Regions from separate parts of the Homo sapiens genome. Here region 1 is linked to region 2. The links are contacts of gene promoters, found by promoter capture Hi-C in human tissues and cell types (Jung and others, 2019). All regions are on one chromosome and are shown on one strand. Each heading gives the region's core, a stretch centred on a gene start or on the middle of the fragment in contact. The rest is flanking DNA. Distances are from core to core; before and after follow the strand shown. Region 1 has its middle 44 kb from the start of RAB33B. Region 2 holds the start of ELF2 (E74 like ETS transcription factor 2).

The links. Contacts are between HindIII fragments. The study calls those that stand out against the background at their distance.
Region 1: a contact is called between a fragment that was not itself captured here and the fragment with the promoter of ELF2 in region 2, in 1 of the 25 tissues and cell types used here (lymphoblastoid cells).

What each region holds. Positions count from the first base shown.
Region 1 is chr4:139,495,873-139,501,199 of GRCh38, reverse strand. It overlaps a transcript of SETD7 not described here. Among named protein-coding and RNA genes, the nearest start is that of RAB33B, 44 kb to the right of the region's middle. RefSeq lists a silencer at 3,111-3,405. The HindIII fragment of the contact is 5,185 bases long and covers 875-5,327 here.
Region 2 is chr4:139,174,893-139,179,609 of GRCh38, reverse strand. ELF2 (E74 like ETS transcription factor 2) reads left to right here and starts at 2,392. Exons shown (of 10, transcript NM_001331036.3): 1 at 2,392-2,643. It overlaps LOC105379412 (a long non-coding RNA gene), which reads right to left and starts at 3,455. Exons shown (of 4, transcript XR_007058273.1): 1 at 3,262-3,455. RefSeq lists a cis regulatory region at 931-1,055, silencers at 1,422-1,801, 1,812-2,771 and an enhancer at 3,372-3,421. The HindIII fragment of the contact is 12,940 bases long and covers 1-4,717 here.

The DNA of each region.
Region 1 (5,327 bases), core at 2,218-4,717, 320 kb before region 2:
TTGCCTTTGTGGAGCTTGCATTTTAGTGAGGGAAACGGATAAGAAGCAAGTAAATGACTGTATGTGCCTGGGTAAGTGGTATGGGACAAAGAGAGGAGAATAAAGAGGGTGAGGAGGTGTGCAGGGCCAAGAGGGGTGCTATTTTTTTGTGGGGGAAAGTCAGGGAAGACCTCATTTCCTGAGAGAGAGAACAAATTATGGAGATTCCAGGGGAAACATTTCAGGCTGAGGGGGGCCGCAGAGAGCCACGACCTGAGGTGGGAATGCTCAGGGAAGCGCAGGAGGCCAGGGGACCGGCCAGTGGGGAGAGAAGAGAATCAAATTCTACAGGGGCCCCGAAAACTATTTCAAGGACTTTGTTTTAAACTCAGAGTGCGAGGTGCAGTGGTGCAGCCAGTCACGGTGGCTTATGCCTGTAATCCCAGCACTTTGGGAGGCTGAGGTGGGCAGATCATCTGAGGTCAGGAGTTTGAGACCAGCCTTGCCAACATGGCAAAACCCCGTCTCTACTGATAATACAAAAATTAGCTGGGCGTGGTGGTGCATGCCTGTAATCCCATCTACTCAGGAGGCTGAGGCAGGAGAATCGCTTGAAACTGGGAGGCGGAGGTTGCAGTGAGCCAAGGTGGCACCACGGCACTCCAGCCTGGACGACAGAGCAAGACTCCGTCTCAAAAAAACAAAACAAACAAACAAAAACCACCAGCTTTCTTAAACTTAGTTTACTACAGTTTCTGAAAATGCTTTTGAAATTGTAATTGCTGTTAGCCCTTTCATTGGAAGGATCTCAACAGAAGAATGACAAGATCTTCCTCCCACGTGTAAAAGGATCACTCAGGCTGTTGTACTGAGAATAGGCTGGAGTGGGAGTAGGGACCCAGGTGGAAGCAGGGGGTTCATGATGATGGTGGGCAGGACAGAGGGGCCATGGTGAGGAGAAGTGGTTGAACTGGCGTGCATCATAGGAAGAAACAGTAGAATGTGCTGAGATATGGCATTAGGCATTTCACTGATTATTCAGGAATGGTGAGGCCAACAGATCAGGAGACAAATGCCGCTCTCAAAAATTTGCTGAAAAATCAACTCAAAATCAAAAGGCAGATTAATTGGAGAAAAAGCACATACATTTATTTAATGTGTATACACAAGAGCCTTTAGAATGATGATCCAAAGGTATAGGGGAAATTGGCCATTTTTATACTTAGGTTCAATGAAGTATGAAATATGTTTGGACAAAAACGGCATGATCTAATGCTAACAGGCTGAGTGGGAAAACCTAGCAAAACCTCTCTGTCTAGATTCTTCCTGGCCTCTCTGAGCATGCATTCCTTTCTTCTGGGTATGGGGCAGGGTTGTCAGAACCCAGTGGGTTCTTCTTGCCCACTGCCCTGAAAACAAAAAAACAGTGCACTGAGAACAGCAGATGTTGCAGCGAAGAAAGAATTTAATGATCACAGGGCCAGCCAAGCAGGAAGACAGGAGAAATTTCTCAAATCTGCCTTCCCAAGAATTTAGAGGCTGGGGTTTTTAAGGGTACTTTGGTGGGAAGGGGGCTGGGAAACTGAAAGGATTGATTGGCTGTGGATAAAATCACAGGGGTGTCTAAACTGTCTTCATGCAGCTGAATCAGTTCCTGGGAGGGGGGGTCTTGGGACCAGGTGGCATCTCTGGGTCTGCTGAAATGCTAAATCTGAAAAATATCTCAAAGACCGATTCTTCAGGTTTCACAGTAGTAATGTTATCTACAGGAGTAGTTGGGGAAGTTATAAATCTTGCGACTCTGGGGCAGTAAGCAACTTACAGAAAAACAAGCTTGGCAATGGCAGGTCATTGTTTAACTCAGCCTATGCTTTAGCAAAGTTCAAGCCTCTACCATAATTCTAACCTTGCGTCCTCTTGTTAGTCTTTACAAATTCGATTTCCATTTTTGAACAAGGAAGGGACCAGTTCAAGGAAAGGACTATTATGGCCTCCACACAAGAATGAGGACAAGCAAGTTAACCTGGTAGAAGCAAGATAGTCAGTTATGTCAGATTTCTCTGACTATAATTTTGCAAAGGCAGCTTTAGTGCCCTTTCTGGAATGGGGGTCTTCTGACTATAGTCAAACAAGGTAGGTCAGAAAATTTTTTTCTTTTTGAGACAGACTCTTGCTTTGTTGCTCAGGTGGGAGGGCAGTGGTGCAATCTCGGCTCACTGCAACCCCTGCCTCCTGGGTTCAAACAATTATCATGCCTAATTTTTGTATTTGTAAAAGAGACAGGATTTCACCATGTTGGCCAGGCTGGTCTCCAACTCCTGGCCTCAAGAGATCCGCCCACCTTGGCCTCCCAAAGTGCTGGGATTACAGGCATGAGATAATTTCTTTATGGTCAGTTTTTACACAGAAAGGCAGAGGGAAAGTTAGAGTGATATTTTTAGGTTTTATGGCTGGCTTTGGGGAAAAATAGTTCTGGTTGGCAGGATCTGCCTTGGGGTCTATAGGCAGCCTCTGGGAAGGATGGGACTCAGAGACAGAAGGGCAGGAGAAAGTCAGAGAAAAATCTTTGCTCCTGAAGCTGCCTCTGAGGCCTTCATTTCTGGATATTGTCTTCTGAACCCCAACAATAGTTTGTTATTCACAGTTCCCAAGAGGAGGGGGCACACCATGTTACAGGGGCCACATGGGGAAGCACCAGGATCAAGTAGGAGGTAGATGGAGTAAAGAGAAAACGTAGACAAGAACCTGTATTGTGGTGTCTGCAGGAAGAAATGGAGAGGCAGTCAGCAGGCCTGGGATTGGCTAGCTTGAATAACTTCAGTAGATTCTGGGGTGTACCGGCTGTCTTTAGTTGTCTGGTACCTGACCCTGGGGTAATGGTGGCTTGGAGTGGAAGAGGCCTAAGAAGGAAGTGGTTGTAGGCACAGAGGCTGATTTGGTTAGGTTGCATGTGAAAGGTGCCAGGCCTTTGCTATCTCTAGGAATCAGCTAGCCCTGGGTGGGGGGCAGTCCCTCCAGAGCCCACAAGGCCCTAGATGTCAAAGAGTCAGCATTAAAAGACATGCTTTAATATAATAGGAAGTAAGGAATCAGGGATGAACTCCGCAGTTTTTGATCTGAGCAACTGAAAGAATGAAGTAATCACTTAGTGCAAATAACGGTCACCACTGATGATACTGATGGTCTTACCGTAAATCTCCTGCACTTTCCCAGTTTTTATTTCTATTTCCAAAACAACCCATTAATTTCTTCATGGTCCAGCTCCCTCTTGTGGTGAGGATTTATTCTCATACTGTTTCTGACATGCTGTAAAACAAACACCTCTAGGGAAAGGATGATTTAACACATTTTAAAAATCCCAGCACTTTGGGAGGCCGAGGCGGGTGGATCACCTGAGCTCAGGAGTTCAAGACCAGCCTGGCCAACATGGTGAAAACCCATCTCTACTAAAAATACAAAAATTAGCCGGGCGTAGTGGCAGGCGCCGCCTGTAATCCCAGCTACTCAGGAGGCTGAGGCAGGAGAATCGCTTGAACCCAGGAGGCGGAGGTTGCAGTGAGCCGAGATTGCGCAACTGCACTCCAGCCTGGGGAACAAGAGAGAGATTTCGTCTAAAAAAAAAACAAAAAAACAAAAAAACAAAAAAAACATGAAAACTCAGTTGATGTTCTTTCCTATCATCAGGTTGAACTTTGATTAGCTAAATTAAGACACCACTTCCAGGGCTTTTTAAATTTTTTTATTTTTTATTTTATTTTTTTTGAGACGGAGTTTCGCTCTTGTTGCCCAGGCTGGAGTTTAGTAATGGCGCAATCTCGGCTCACTGCAACCTCCGCCTCCCGTGTTTAAGCGATTCTCCTACCTCAGCCTCCCGAGTAGCTGGGATTACAGGTGCCTGCCACCATGCCCATCTAATTTTTGTATTTTTAGTAGAGACAGGGTTTCACCATGTTAGTCAGGCTGGTCTGGAACTCCCAACCTTGGGTGATTCGCCCACCTCGGCCTCCCAAAGTGCTGGGATTACAGGCGTGAGCCACCGCACCCGGACTTTATTTTTAAATGAGCCCAAATTTCAAGAGGGCTAATAGCACTTCTGGCGCCTACAGTAAACAAAGTTGAACAAAACTGGTTTATCTTTTAAAACAAACAGAAGCATTTCTGTGTCATACAGGTCTTTAAAATCTCTCTCTGCCTGGAGCACAGTTATCTGTAAAACACGAGTTATAAGATCATTAGTACTGGCTGGGCATTATAGGCATAAGCCACTGTGCTTGGCCTCTGAAATTTCTTTATCAGAATTATTATAGCACTCGGACTCTGTGTGTGTGCATGTGTGTGTGTGTGTGTACAGGAACACAACTTATCTAAGTACGATTTACAAAACCTACAGCTATGTGGAACACAGCCAGAAACCTGAGACTGAGTGACTTCTGAGCAGTCAATAGCTATTTCAGTTCATGCACTTTACTCTGTAGAAGAACAACCATAACACAGTCCCCGTGGAACATCAGGTTCCAGCCTTAGAGCCTCTGACCCAGTGAAAAGTCAGAGCCAGCAAAAGAGAGGATGGAGAAGATTTAGAAAAATGCAGCTGGGTTTCTAAAAGTCTCCTTTCTGGCTTTTCAGCACCGTGGCTTGAGATCTATGTACCTTAATAATCTCTGAAAACGTTCTCAGCCAGTTGCTTCTCCAATTTCAGTGGCCAGAAGAATCACCTGGGAACGTGTAAAAGAAGCAGATTTGGGGCTCCACTCCCAAAGATCCCACATCTGGATCAAGCGCCCTGGGTAGAACACAGAAAAGCTGGCATTCCTCTTTATAGTGCAGCCCAAGGACTGATGCTCATAATGATGTTCGTGAGTAATTAAGAAAAGATAAAAGCGAATGGAATGAACTCTGCCTACTGATAATGGCAATTGTCAGAACATAGGCTTCCCTCAAGAACTCAAAATCGCACTCTGGGAGCCATTTTAAGATCTGAAAAGAGATACCTAATAAGTTGTGCCAGAGAAATCAATAAATAAAGTCACCAGAGGGGGGAAAAAGACCCTCAAACCAGCAGGACTTGATTAGATAAAATATCTTTTAAAACAATCAGGATATTTGGAATTTTCTTCAGGCTAATATGGGAGATAAGGGAAGTGAAGTGTGGGTGTAGATAAAACCAGACTGACCACATGTGGATAAGGATTTCAGCTGGGTGATGAGTACGAGTTCATGATCTTATATGTGTGTTTTTATATGTTTTTGAAATCTCCACAATAAAAAATTACAAAAAAAGTTTAAACCCAGGTTATTAGGTATAAACGTACCAAAAAAACAGTGTCACAGAGGCAAACATTACCTAA
Region 2 (4,717 bases), core at 1,143-3,642:
AAAATTTCTTAAATAAGAATAAGAGCCCTCGGACTTGCTTTTTTTTGAGACGGAGTTTCGCTCTCGTTGCCCAGGCTAGAGTGCAATGGTGCGATCTGGGCTCACTGCAACCTCCGCCTCTCGGGTTCAAGCGATTCTCCTGCCTCAGCCTCCCGAGTAGCTGGAATTACAGGCACACACCACCACACCCGGCTAATTTTTTGTATTTTTAGTAGAGACGGGGTTTCACCGTGTTAGCCAGGATGGTCTTGAACTTCTGACCTCAGGTGATCCGCCCGCCTCGGCCTTCTAGAGTGCTGGGATTACAGGAGTGAGCCACCGCGCCCGGCCTTTTTTTTTTTTTTTTTTTTTTTTTGAGAAGGAGTCTTGCTCTGTCGCCCAGGCTGGAGTGTAGTGTTGCGATCTCGGCTCACTGCAACCTCTACCTCCGGGGTTCAAGCGATTCTCCTGCCTCCCGAGGAGCTGGGACTACAGGCGTGTGCCACCACGCCCAGCTAATTTTTGTATTTTTAGTGGAGACGGGGTTTCACCATGTTAGGCAGGCTGGTCTCGAACTCCTGACCTCAGGCAATCCACCCTCCAGGGCCTCCCAAAGTGCTGGGATTACAGGCGTGAGCCACTGCGCCCGGCCCAGAGTTGCTTTTTAAGAAAGGAAGAGAAGACTCACCCCCAAGAAAATAGAGGCAACAGCAGTATTAACAAAAGAAAGAGATCATTACATTCTTAGGCTCTTCAGGGATTTAAATCTGGAGCCTCCTGCAGCTTTCTGACATTTGAGCCTTACTCTAGGGTGATTTCCACGGTTCCCACGTCCCTTTCAAGAGAACAGCTATCACTTATATTCCTCAGTGTTTCTTCTTTGCTCCAGACTGGTTGTGAAGCCGTAAAAAGGGTAACGCTGGAGCCCAGAAATCAGCTGGTGAATACCGCGCCAGGTGCCAGGTCCATCGCGGCGAGGCTGCAGGAGCCCTGGAGGGGAGCAAAAGGAGCCCCGCGCGCACCGGACAGGCTGTGCTCTTTGTTAAAGAAACAAATACAGAAAACGCCGCGGCGGGGAATGGTGGTGGTGAAGAAATAGACTGAGGCGTTTGTATGCATTAACTGTGCCTACAAAGCCCATTAAAGAGACGCTCCTACACAGGGCAACCCACGGCACCGTGTCATTGGCTTTTGTGCACTTGAAGGCGCGTGAGAGTGCCCCGCTCGAAGGCTCCCCTTTGTGTGAAAGTGTGGAAACCAGAAGCGTGCAGCCACTGCTGGGTTTTCGTTTTCGAATTCGCAGGCACTTGGGCCAAAATACTCCCACACCAGAACACTCTCTCATTCTCGCACCAACAACACTCAGACTTGAGTTACTTCTCCGTTGCGGACCGCGCAAGGAGCGACAATGGCTAGGTGCGAGTGCCCGCAGCTCCCCGGGCAGCTCCAAGGGGCCGCCCGCCGCGCTCCGCAGCTGCGCGCTGGGCCCAGCCACCCGACAGCCAGCAAACGCCGGCACCAACCGCCGCGCGGCCGGGCTGTTGGGCGGGTGGTAATTTCTGGGAATGGGGCGGGGTCGCGGGTGTACTACGCCCGGCTTTTGCTAGCGGGGAGGAGGAGCTGGCGGCGCCGAGGGGCGCGAGGCTGGCGGGGCGGTGCGCCACGTGCGTCACCGGCCGGGGCGGGGCCGGCGTCGCGCTCCTGCCCGAACCCCCACCTTTCACTAAGCCAAGGCTGAGGAGTGGGAACTGGAAAGACCGGGCTAGGAGTTTTTGCAAAACCTCGCCCCCCTGTAACTGTCAGACTGCCCGACTGTGGGGCCGTCTCCGGAGAAGGGCGAGAGTCCTGAGTTGGGGATGCGGTGACGGCGGGGCCTGCGGGGGCCCTGAGTGGCGAGGGTGTGTGCGTGCGGTCCCGGCCGGCGGGGGAAAGCCGGCGGGCGCTGCAGGTGCACGCGCGGCCCCATCGGCCTCACACGCCTGCCCCGTGCGGCAGAGCCCCCTGCACCAATCCGGGGCTGGAGTGGAGAGCGAGATCGGGGAGCCCTGGGCAAGGAGCCGGACAAGTGACGAGCGTCTTTACCTGGGAAGGCGGGTTTGGGAGAAGTTGGGCGAGGAGAAGAGGGCGGGATTCAAGACAGCAAAAGAAGCAGGTTCGGCGGGCTGGTGGGGGCCCGAGGGCGGCGGGGCCCCGCGGGGTATAAATAGCCGGCCCGCGTTTGACAGGCGCTGCGGTGACTGGCGGTGCCGCCCCCGCCCCCCCGCCGCGTGGGGAGGGGAGGAGCACTCTGAGCTGGCGGGGAGGGGGAGGCGGACTCCAGTGTCCTGGTGGAGGCGGCAGGAGGCCGAGGGGGAGGAGCCGAGGCGGGGGGTGGAGGGAGGGGGCCGGGAGCGGAGCGGGGCGGGGGCAACCATTGCTCCCAGCGCCAAGCTCTGTGTCGCCGCCGTCGCCTAGGCGGTTGGGGGTCGGTGGGGCGGCGCGGGCGGGGGTCGCTGCGCGGGGCGGCGAGCCTCTGTTTTGTCTCCTTCTCTCCCTGTGGAGCGGCTCGGGCTGCTGGGGAGGCCCCGGCTCCCTCCGGACGCTCGGCCAACGGCGGCGGCTAGTCCGCGGCCCTGCTGAGAGGGAAAAGGACGCCGCGGTCTTCCCAGGCGTCGCGGAGAGCAGGTAAGAGCGCGGGCAGCCGAGGCTGGTGAGAGGGAGCGCGAAGGGCGCGGCGATAAAGCCTGGCTGTCCCGACTGCCGCCGCCTCCCTCCGCGCCCCCGCCCCGCGCTTGTGTTGTTTGCTTCGGGGTTTGCGGAGGGGTTTTCCGGCGGCTGCGGCGGTGACACCGGCCGGGGGCTGGGGGAAGGGGGCTGAGTGTCCCCAGGCAACGGTCGCGGAGCGGGACTTGGAGAAAGGGGAAGGCGCGCTGCGCGCCTGCCCGCGGGGAGCGCGGGGCGCGGGGCAGGGCTGAGGGAAGAGGTTACAGACCCCGGCGGGGGGGATGGGCCGAGCGCAGCTGGTCTCTCCGTGTTTACATCTCTGCGCGAGTCACCTCTGCCGAGAAGCGGACTGAACTGACCCGCCTCATCCCGCGGGGAGGCCAGGGCGGGGGTCCGGCTCCGGAGGAAGCGCGTCCTGGGAGGGTTTGTGTAGGGCGGGAGTCTGCGGCCGGCGCCGGGGCTGGGCGGCGAGCTCGGGGCGGGACCTGGGAGGCTCCGGCCGCTCTGGGTGGCGGGCAGGCGGGGGGGGGCGCTGGACACCAGTTTCCTTCCCTGTCGTGCCTTATCGCCGCCGCTTACCTTTCCTTCCCGGCGCTGCTAGCTTGCACGACAGGTTGTACTCGGCAGTTCTTTTATTCTCGCTCTCCACGCCGGCACCGTGCTGCCATCTCCCCCTATTCCCCGGGAGGTAGGGAGGCTTTGCTCGGATCGGAATCTGTTTCTTAAGCAAAACAAAAACGGGCTCGTAACAGGCACGTCCAGTGACCGCCTTCTGGATCCTCGCGAAGCTGGTCCTCAGGGACCGCGCGACGGGATGGTCTAGGGGCGCGGAAGGAGGACAGGGAGGGCTCTGCCAGGGCTGGATGCTGACTCTACCCCAGGAGCTTTGTGATCAGGGTAGCCGAGCCCTCTCTTCTGCTCCATTTGGGCATTTTTATTCCATGTCCATAAAGGACTCAAAAAATATTCCGTGACACCAAGAATAATCCAGATCGCACAGTTTCTAATCTTTTTCCCTCTGCCAGCATCCTGGATGGACTCTTTCTAGGAGGCAGATTCGCTGCAGAATAGCCTTTAAGTTTAGTACTTCATTAAATGAGGAAGAGGGGGACACGTCATTGTAAAACTGTTAAAAATTCCCCCCTTTCTTGTGTTCATGAACATTTACTTCAGCTTAATGGTTTAAATTGTAATCCGGTGATGAGAGAATAGTAATCGTGTGTTTGATAATCAGATTTGTTTTCCTTTTTATCTGTGATTCTCTATCCTGAAGTAAATTATGCACTTTCTTTGGTGCCAGAATCACGGAAGGATGTATGCTTTACTAAGAAAGGATTGGATATTTGTGTTTCAGAGTTTCTTCAAAAGGTAGAATGACTTATATAGGACTGGAAACCATTAAATTACATTTAAGGGAATTTAGGAATAATAAAACTTTTTATAGAGCATTACAGTTTACAGAGTACATTCATGTAAATATTATTGAGACGATATCTAGTAGTTAAACACATGAAATAGAAAATTGGAATATCCTGGGCATTTGAAGTTTGAATATTTATGTCAACCTATTTTTAAGTTTAGTGATTTAACTCATTGGATTTATCATTGCCTTTCATTTCAGACATAAATACTCATTTACAAAATAGTCAGCTTGAGTATGGTTGGAAAGAATTTGTAACTTTGGGATTTTTCTGTCCTAAGTAAACAGATTGGTACCTGTGGCCTGTAGGGTCTGCTAATGTTAGTGGCTTTACCTGCTCATGTTGTATACCATTTTTGGAGGAGTAACAGCTTCACGATGATATAATTCACATACTAGTCAGTTCAGTTTAAAGTGTACAGTTTGGTGGGTTTATTAATTTTTTAAAAAATTACTCCATTTTGCAGGTGAACAATTCAGTGGTTTTTACTACAATTGTCCATCGGTATCTGTTGGGGATTTGTTCTAGGGCCTTCCTCAGACACCAGAATCTATGGATGCTCAGGTCCCTAAAATAAAATGGCATAGTTGCTGGGTGCAGTGGCTTGTGCCTGT